Linked DNA regions of Homo sapiens: region 1 is linked to region 2. The links are contacts of gene promoters, found by promoter capture Hi-C in human tissues and cell types (Jung and others, 2019). All regions are on one chromosome and are shown on one strand. The core of a region is centred on a gene start or on the middle of the fragment in contact, and the rest is flanking DNA. Distances in the headings are between cores, read along the strand shown.

Region 1 (3,288 bases), core at 1-2,500, 1.0 Mb before region 2:
CATTTACACAGGGCGTACACCAAGTAACCAATGGAAACCTCTAGAGGGTATTTAACCCCCCCAAAAAATCTGTAACGGGGCTCTTGAGCCGCTATGCTCAGCCGCTCCCACAGTGTGGAGTTATTTTCGTTGTCTTTTCTTGTTTCTTTTTTGAGACGAAGTCTGGCTCTATCGCCCAGGCTGGAGGGCAGTGGTGCGATCTCGGCTCACTGCAACCTCCGCCTCCCGGATTCAAGCAATTCTCCTGCGTCAGCCTCCCGAGTAGCTAAGACCACAGGCGTGCACCACCACGCCCGGCTAATTTTTGTGTTTTTAGTAGAGAGGGGGGTTTCACCATGTTGCCCAGGCTGGTCTCAAACTCCTGACGTCAGGTGATCTGCCCGCCTTGGCCTCCCAAAGTGCTGGGATTACAGGCCTGAGCCACCGCGCCCGGCCACACTTTTGTTTTCCATAAATCTCGCTTTTGTTGCTTCCTTCTTTCCGTGCTTTGTTTGTGCGTTTTGTCCAGTTCTTTGTTCAAGACGTCAAGAACCTGGACACCCTCCACCGGTCACAATAGCAGTTTCGCTTTCCATTCCATTTTATCCAGGGTGGTTTTATCTCCACCCTGGCGTTTGCAGAATCCGGGCAAGTACACAAATGGATGCTCCACAATACTTGTCTAGATATTTAAAAGGTATAAATAAAATAACTTAAATGAATGAAATTTTTATTATTTAAATCTGTTGAAGTCTTGTGTGCATGAAAATAAAACTCCTCCTAATGTGGCGTTCAGTGCCCACGCCGCTGCCACCGTGCCTGGCCCTGCGCCTGGGCGCGCTGTGTCCGCTGCTACAGACGCCGGCGGGCAGGCGGGCAGGCGGGCAGGCGGGCAGGCGGGCAGGCGGGCAGGCGGGCAGGCGGGCGGGGGGAGGCGGCGCAGAGCCCGGCAGGCGCCGCCGTTGCCTCCGCCTCCGCGCGGTCTCCCCGGGGCCAGCTGGGACCCCGAGGGCTGGGGCGGGGGCGGGGGCGCGGGCGACTGCGGCGGGGCCTGGAGGGCGCTGGTCCCAGCCCAGGGCGGGGTCCCGGGGACGCCCCTCGGCCTTAGATCCGCGAGCGGCAGCTCGGGCCTGGGGGCGGGGCCTGGCGGAGAGCGACCCGCTCACTCTGCCCGGGCTGATCTCGCGAGGGCCGCCTGGTCTCGCGGCGCTGGCCTGTGGGCGGAGCGAGCCCTGAAAGGCTATAGGCGAGGGGGCGGCTCCGCGGGGCCGGGCGAGGAGTCCAGAGAGCCATGGCCGCCCTGCGTGTCCTGCTGTCCTGCGTCCGCGGCCCGCTGAGGCCCCCGGTTCGCTGTCCCGCCTGGCGTCCCTTCGCCTCGGGTGAGTGCGCGGTGAGAGCTGGCGGCCCGAATCTCCTCCTGACTCCGACCTGCACGCCCAGACCAGATCCCAGACCGCACCCCCCTCCCACCTGACCCCGCATCCCCCACCTGACCCCAACCCACACCCCTCTTCCGCCTGACCCCGCACCCTCACCTGACCCCTACCCGCACCCCACTCCGCCTGACCCCGCACCCCCCCGCCTGACCCCGCACCCCCCCACCTGACCCCGCACCCTCCGGCCTGACCCCTACCCGCACCCCACTCCGCCTGACCCCGCACCCCCCCACCTGACCCCGCACCCCCCGGCCTGACCCCGCACCCCTCTTCCGTCCGATCCCGCATCCCCAGGGCCTGACTCCGCACTCTCCTGCCTGACCCCGCACCTACCACCTGACCCCGACCCGCAGCCCCTGCCTGGCTCAGGCCTGCAACACCCCCCTCGCCTAGTGCTGCACCCCCCACCTGACCCGCACCCACAGCCTGACCCAGGCTTAACACCCCCCCACCACCCGCCACCCCGCACCGACACCACCCACCTGACCCTGGCCCGCACCCCCACCCCCTGCCTGGCTCTGCAGGAGGCCACTCTCACCAGGCCACGTCCTGCGGGAGGCCCGGCGGCTGGCTGGTACTGCCCCAGTGCCAAGACCTCTGGCCAACTGGGCGCAGGGTGGGGGTTGTAAAAATCCGGGGTGTTCCCTCGGCTCTAAGAGCAGGCGTAGCTCCTGTGCAGCCGGCCAGCCCGAGAACAGGAGATGCAGGTGCATTTTGTCCTGGGTGCCTCCTGACCAGGGCCACCCCTCAGAGGGTCCTAAGGGAAAAGCTGACACCTCCTCCCCAGCCACAGGGGGCTGCCCTCTTCCTCCCTCGTGGCTCACCCGGGGCCCCACTCATGAGCGGCCATCACCGGCTCTAGTATCTGAGGAATCTTGGGCCATGCCTTGGGCTGGGGAAGAACTCTTGCTTCCTCTTCCTCCCTCACCCTGTGTAGCAGTGGACCACTGAGTTGTGTTGGTTTCATCTCCATGCTCTCCTTGGCCTTCGGCTTCTCCACCCTGACAGCAGCCCTTTCCTGGATCTTGCATGGCGGGCACTGCTGCCAGACACTTCACCTGTGATCTTCCAGTTACCCCTAGAAACCCACAGGATACGGCGGGGCACAGTGGCTAATGCCTATAATCCCAGCACTTTGGGAGGCTGAGGCAGGTGGATCACCTGAGGTCATCAAGACCACCTTGGCCAACATGGTGAAACCCCATGTCTACTAAAAATACAAAAATTAGCCAGGTGTGGTGGTGTGTGACCGTAGTCCCAGCTACTCGGGAGGCTGAGGCAGGAGAATCACCTGAACCCTGTAGGCAGAGGTCGCAGTGAGCCAAGATTGCGCCACTGCACTCCAGCCTGGGCAATAGAGTGAGACTCGGTCTCCAAAAAAAAGAAACCCATAGCACAGGGACTATGATCCCTGCTCTGCCACTAACGGAGGCAAGCATCCAACACACAGGCTACCTTTGTCTTTTCAGGTTCACCTTCTCACCCCTGGAACGCCATTGTCCTTTGTCTCCTTCCCACCTTGCTGTCCACCCAGCAGGCGCAGGTCCTGTGCAGCAGGCCAACCGAGAAGCGCCTGCGTCTCCCATTTTCGGGCTGGCCTGCTGCTCCGGACCTGTGCCTGATCTTAATGCTGCAGGAACACCCAGGATTTTCACATCCCCCACCCTGCGTCCAGTTGGCCAGAGGTCTTGGCACTGGGGCGGTACCAAGTGCAAGGAGCTGCCTTACACCCCCTCACCTGTTGGCATTTGTTGAAAGAAGGTGTTTCCTGGTGCCTTGTCTCAGCAGAGTCCAGGGCTGTCTCCAGAGTGGTGTCCTGGGAAGAGCTGACCAAGGCATATTAGGAGAAGGAAAGCGGCTGTGGGCTGTGTTC
Region 2 (6,337 bases), core at 1,468-3,967:
TTATACTGACATTTGTCTTCTGAAAGGTATAAACAGTTATCAAGTTTCTTCATCAAGCCTGAAGACCTCTGGAATTTCCTCCTTCTCCCTTTGTGCATAAAGGTAACAGAAACCTCAGGGCTCTGCTGGATCCCTTATTCAGGGCTGAGGATATCTGTTCATTAAAAGTGACACCTGTGTAACAGGAGCCAGGACAAGGCAGGTCCCTGTGACCAGTGCCTCACCCTAGATGTCAGCATGAAGGAAAGAAAGAGCAAGACCAGCGCTGCCGTGACAGCAAAGACAATGCAAATGTAGAGTTTATAACTTAAGCAGCCACTAAAAATCTAAATATGTAGCTCTTGTAGAAGCACTCAAAAATGTCAATCTGGCCAGGTGCGGTGGCTTACACCTGTAATTCCAGCACTTTGGGAAGCTGAGACAGGCAGATCACCTGATCTCAGGCATTCAAGATCAGCCTGGGCAACATGGTGAAACCCCATCTCTACTAAAAATACAAAAAGAAAGTCAATCAATATCATAACTATGTTCCAGACACTGAACTTTCACATTATTCATTTTCACAATAAATGATGTGAAAACATGATCATTCCGACATTCCAGATTAAACCAAATGAGGTTTAAGGAAATTCTGTGAGTCCCAGCAGGGACAAGTGCTGCAGGGGGAACCCTCAACTGTCTAACATCAAACCTGTGCCCTCACAGAAGCTTTCTCTAGAAATCACATGGACAAGACAGCATCTACTGCGGACTGACCCGGAGAAGGGCCGGGCACAAAGTAAAACCAGTGTGTAACATGAGCAAAATCATGGGTGAGAACAAAGTTTTTAACTGCTCATGTTGCCTGATTTTCTTTAAGGTTTTGTGTTTTAATTAAGAGACCAAGCGTGTTTGGCAGTAGTTTCTACCACAGGTTTTGAGAGATGAACTGCAAGGAAGAGAACAGACACCTTCATCTAAATAGATGTACTATTTCCATTGGTTGGTCCCCATCATGAATTTCCCATTTTGTTGTGATTGGCGTATGAAACTATGAGTTAACCTTTCCTCTATTTAATTTTAGAATTCATCAATTCCAAAGAGAAAGAAGCCTACAAATAAAGCCCAGGGGTACATTCCCATTTCTGTCTATAGGGGACCTGTGGGCACACAGCCTGAGGAGCAGCCCCACTTACTTGAAGGCTGGGGATTCTAAAGACCTCCTCCAAACGGCACAGACCACTTTCACTCAAGTCTAAAATCGGTGAGGAGGAAAAGATGATGCCTCCAACACCCTTGTGAACATCTTTGGAGGGGGTGGCAGGCAAGCTCCTAGTCTGACCAGCACCCTCCTCCAGATCAGCAGCAGCCACAGAGGGAACTTCGTAGGAGCTGCTTCCCTCCATCCGTTCTCTTCCAGGGACAGCAGCTCATCCTCCTTGGTCTGGAGTCACCTGGAGACACGGGAAAGGGAAACGTAGAAGCAACTAATTATACCGAGGCAAAACAGAATAGCTGTGTGGCAGATCTACTGTAATGTAACTTGCTTTAAAAGCTATCATTTTTCCTAAGCAGTAGCAAAAATTTGACTTTTAAACATGTAAAAAAAAAAAAAAGGAATACAAAGAGGTTCAGATTAAAATTCTCTGCTCTCACTTTGTACAATGGAGTTCCAAGATTTAACTCCTGGAAAACGCAAAGGCGCACAATAGTAATGATCATTTTAGGGATGTAAACAGATCGGAACATTTCAAAGCCTGTAAATCAACTGCAACGCTTCCATGAAATGACTAGGGGCGGGTGGAAATTTGCACTGTTTCTTACCTCTGGTGTGGTTCTGTGCCATTTGAACTATGTTTTTAGTTTCTTGAGGCCAGGAAGCCTGTCTTTTGTTTACCATTTTGACCCAGTGACCAGAACTAAGTCTGGCTTACACCCAGTTAAGCACCGGGGAAAAACCTGTTAAATTAATCTCGAATTTTCGTTGTCCAGCAACACTTTTACTCAGAAGTATTGTTCACCAAAATCTCATTCAGCGAGGCACACTTCCACTTGCAATTTCCAAACAATTTATTCGGCAATAAGAATCAACGTTGGAATGCATCAGTTCACCTAATTCAAGTCACTCAACAGCCCAATGATTGGCATATGAGGCGCAGATCAGTTAGGGAACTGTTCCAGGGGCGCAGTTAATTGGGGGGTAGAGGCGACACCGGGACCCAGCAGGGTTCAACCCCAGGCAGCCTGCATTCCATGGAAGCCCGCGGGCTTTTTCACGGTCAGTTCACTTGTTTTCTCCGAATCACGGAACTTAAAACAGAGGAGGGGAGGCTTCAAACCTCAGAACAGGGAAAGTATCTTAAAACCAGAAGTGAAACAACAGCCTGGACTCACACAGGGCCCAGGCAGCGCAGGCTCCGTGGGGTTTCCGAGGCTGCCTTCAAGGGATCCCCACGCACGCCCACCCCCGCTCCCTGCCTCGATTTCCCCATCCGGGCGAGGCTGAGTTGGGTCCGACGCTCTGGGCCTCACATTCCAGGCCTCAGAAGGGCAGCCTTTGCGGTCAGCATCGCGGCTGGAGCTAGGCGACAGGGCACGACGGGCCGAGGCACCACCTTCCTGCCGCCGCCCGCCTCGAGGGCTCAGCGAGCTGGCCGTACCCGCCCCGTCTCACCTGCCGCGTCCCCGCCCACTGAAGCGCTGGCGAGCCCCGCCGCTGAGAGCAGCAGCCCGACAATGGAGGCCACCCAGCCAACGCGGTCGCCATGGAGACGCCGGTACGGAATCCCGCAGGCGCCACGCTGAGCGCGAGTGTGTCTGTGATGCGCCTGCGCGAGGGGTGTGGTGCGCCTGCGCGCGGGGGTGTGCGTGTTGTGGGGGTTTGTGCCTGCGTGCGGGGGCGGGGTGTGGGTGCCCCTGCGCGGCAGGGGGTCGGGTGTGGTGCGCCTGCCCGGGAGGGGGCGGGGTGTGGTGCGCCTGCGCTGGGGCGGGGGGTTGCGCTTGCGGTGGGGGGGTTGTGGTGCGCCTGCGCGGGGGTGGCAGGGGGTGGTGCGCCTGCGCACGCACGCGGCCAACGGTAGCATCCGTTTTTCCGCGCCCGCGGCCTTGAAGGGGTGGTGGTCGACGGGCAAGTAGAGACCGCGAGGGTCTGGAGGGGCGACCGGCCTGGCACAGAGGGGAAGGAAGAGAGCGGGATGCTAAGTGCCGTCTGGGGAGCCGGAGGGCCCGGGGCGGGCGGGGCTGCTCGAGGACAGCCGAGCAGAAAAGAATTGCTGCTGAGGCACCACCTTTGGAGCGGTCCTCGCTGCCTGTCCTTCCCGCTGGGCTCACTCCCCGCGTCTCTCCTGGGGCTTCCTGGAGCCACTTCCCACAGGAGCTGCTTGTCCCCAAATCTTGCCTCAGGACTTGCTGCCAGGGGAACGCAGACTCAGAGCGTCCTCTTTGGAGAAGTAAGGCTGCCTCTGGACGGAGGAGTGAGGGGGGCGAGGAAACGCAGTGAGTGTCCTGAGGAAGGGTTTTGAGAATTTGGAAGAAGATGAAATGACACCGGGCGGGAGGGGAGGTGCTCGCGTGGTCCTGTGGAACCCTGGAGTCCCGTGCACCTTCATTCCAGGATCCAACTGATAATGAAAAGTAGCACCCTCTGTCCCACCCAGAAACACTCTGGAAACCCGGACAGTTTAGCTGGAGTCTGCCATGATTTCACTTTTTTTTTTTTTTTTTTTTTTTTGAGGTGGAGTCTTGCTTTGTCTCCCAGGCTGGAGTGCAGTAGCGCGATCTCGGCCCACTGCGACCTCCGCCTCCCAGGTTCAAGCAATTCTCCTGCCTCAGCCTCCCCAGTAGCTGGGACTACAGGCGCGCGCCACCACGTCCAGCTAATTTTTGTATTTTTAGTAGAGACGGGGTTTCATCATGTTGGCCAGGCTGGTCTCGATCTCCTGACCTCATGATCCGCCCCCCTCGGCCTCCCAAAGTGCTGGGATTACAGGCATGAGCCACCGTGCCCGGCCTGATTCCACTTTTTAAAGGAAACGACATAATTATGTGGAGAAACGACTATCCACTTTGAGGGGATTTACGTTTTATTTTTGTGAAGAGATCACAGTAAGAAATGTTTTTTAGGCCGGACACGATGGCTCACGCCTGTAACCCTAGCACTTTGGGAGGCCAGGGTGGGAAGATCGCTTGAGGCCAGGAGTTGGAGACCAGCCTGGGCAACCCAGTCTCTACAAAAATTAAAAAAAAAAAAAAAAAAAAATGCTGGGTGTGGTGGCACACACCTGTAGTTCCAGCTGTGTGGGAGGGTGAGGCAAGAGGATCGCTTGAACCTAGGATTTTGAGGCTGCAGTGAGTTATGATTGTGCCACTTAATGTCAGCTTCGGTGACAGCGAGACCCTGTCTCAAAAAAAAAGTTTTCGTACATACCCAACTATCTACCAATCAGGAAGCTGAAAGCACAACCAGTACCTTCTCAGGAGCGTGGGGAGGCCAGCCACCCGGGCAGAGCAAGGAGAGAATGAGGAGTGACATGGGTGTTGCCGTGAGTGGCGAAGGGGATGGAAGATTTCAGCACGATGCTATTTCTAACAAGTTTCAGCATTCCAGTATCTCTTTTCACAAATAAAACATTTACTAACCATTTGAGCGTATTCCCTCTTGCTTGTTATTGTTGCCTCAGGTTTTTGTTTCACATTTTTCATGCTACATTAATTTTTGTAGTCAGTAGTTAATTGTATGTACGAGCATGTTTTGCCCTTTACTGTGCTCAGTTTTTGCCCAGCCAGATTGTATCCATTGGTAGCCTTTTGGCAAGTATTCTTGGGTGAGCCTCCCAACGTAGGAACGAATGAAGTGTTCGTGTTGATCTGATTATTGAGTGGCTGTGGAGCTGGTGCCGCGTTCCTTGTTGAGTCATTTCCTGTCTTGATTTTAGGACCTTCCTCCGGGCAGCGACTGCTGCTACCCTGCCGAGAAGTTTGCTGCCCGTGGCATTGCTACTTCCATGAAGGAAATCTATCTTCTCTTTTCATGTCTTTGTTCTGAAATTTCGCTGTGGTATTTCTGAGTATAAGTTGGTTTGGCTGTGTTGCCTGGCGCTGGCCGTGTCTTCTCACCTGAGATAGCTAAGTTTCAGTTCCCAGCCCTTCCCGGCCATCTGTCCTCCCGTGGCACCTCTGCACCCTGACATAATTCTTGTTCTGGATCTCCTAAAAGGGAGTAGCTTGCACCCATTCAGTGTCTTCTCCATCTCTCAAACTGCGCTTCCCAGTATTGGTCTCTGTGTTCTCAGTTTACGATCTTCCAGTTTACTAGTTCTGTCTCCATCCAATTAGTTTGTTTAATCTGTTGAGTTTTTAAATAAAACCGCATTGGTCTCTATTTCTAATTTTCTTTTTTGTGTCTAATTTCTTCCAGTTTTTGTTTTATAATCTGTTTTTAATGTTCACGGCTGTTTTCTTTCTTTATCTACCATGAGAATCCCAAACACCTCTATTTATTTATTTTATTTATTTTTTGAGACAGGGTCTCAGTCTGTCACCCAGGCTGGAGTTCAGCGGTGTGATCTCGGCTCACTGTAGCCTTTGCCTCCCAGATTCAAGCAATCCTCCCACCTCAACCCCTCAAGTAGCTGAGACTACAGGCATGTGCCACCACACTGGGCTAATTTTTGTATTTTTTGTAGAGACGGGTTTTACCATGTTGCCCAGGCTGGTCTCGAACTCCTGAGCTCAAGCCATCCACCTGCCTCAGCCTCCCAAAGTGCTGGGATTATAGGCGTGAGCCACTGCCAGTCCTGAGCCACTGCCCGGGGTAGACACATTTATTTTAAACTGTGCTTTATTGTTTTCATCTCCCCTGGGCGGAATTTACCAGTTGATGGCTGATACTGTTATCTGTCTTCTTGGAGTCCTGTGTTTTGAAATCTAGGCTTGCAGGCTTCTGCAGAGGGGGCTTATGTTCTGTTTCCCTGAGTATTCACTGTGTGTCATGCTCTGGCAGGAGCCTCCGTCCAGCCTTTTGGGGTCATGCTTGGGTGCTTGCCTGGCCTTGCCGTTGGGAACTGTAGATCCAGTCCTGGAGCCAGCAAGAGGCTGGGCCGAAGGCTGTCCTCGTCTCCATCTCCAGATATCGCTGCAGAAGTTGTATGTTTTTTCACATTCCTTTCATGGAAGTGAAACCGCCTTTGCAAAATTATAACTGAGGAAATTATGACAGTGAAAGAGATCAGACCTAACCGATTCCATCTTGCTTCTAACTTTTAAGCTGTCCTTGTTCATTCCTGGGCATAGGCCAAACTAACCTTGGGAAGGAATTCAGTTCATGGTTTGACTCTGAAACAAAATGGGTAATAGCCCT

Evidence for each region. Contacts are between HindIII fragments. The study calls those that stand out against the background at their distance.
Region 1: a contact is called between the fragment with the promoter of ECHS1 here and the fragment with the promoter of LRRC27 in region 2, in 1 of the 25 tissues and cell types used here (lymphoblastoid cells).

Annotation. Positions count from the first base shown.
Region 1 is chr10:133,371,316-133,374,603 of GRCh38, reverse strand. ECHS1 (enoyl-CoA hydratase, short chain 1) reads left to right here and starts at 1,250. Exons shown (of 8, transcript NM_004092.4): 1 at 1,250-1,358. The coding sequence starts at 1,271. MIR3944 (microRNA 3944) reads left to right here and starts at 2,941; the gene lies at 2,941-3,048. RefSeq lists an enhancer at 507-596 and a silencer at 978-1,487. The HindIII fragment of the contact is 22,751 bases long and covers 1-3,288 here.
Region 2 is chr10:132,328,573-132,334,909 of GRCh38, reverse strand. LRRC27 (leucine rich repeat containing 27) reads right to left here and starts at 2,717. Exons shown (of 11, transcript NM_030626.3): 1 at 2,654-2,717; 2 at 1,176-1,433. The coding sequence starts at 1,385. It also overlaps a transcript of STK32C not described here. RefSeq lists a silencer at 2,896-3,015 and an enhancer at 2,900-3,434. The HindIII fragment of the contact is 23,116 bases long and covers 1-6,337 here.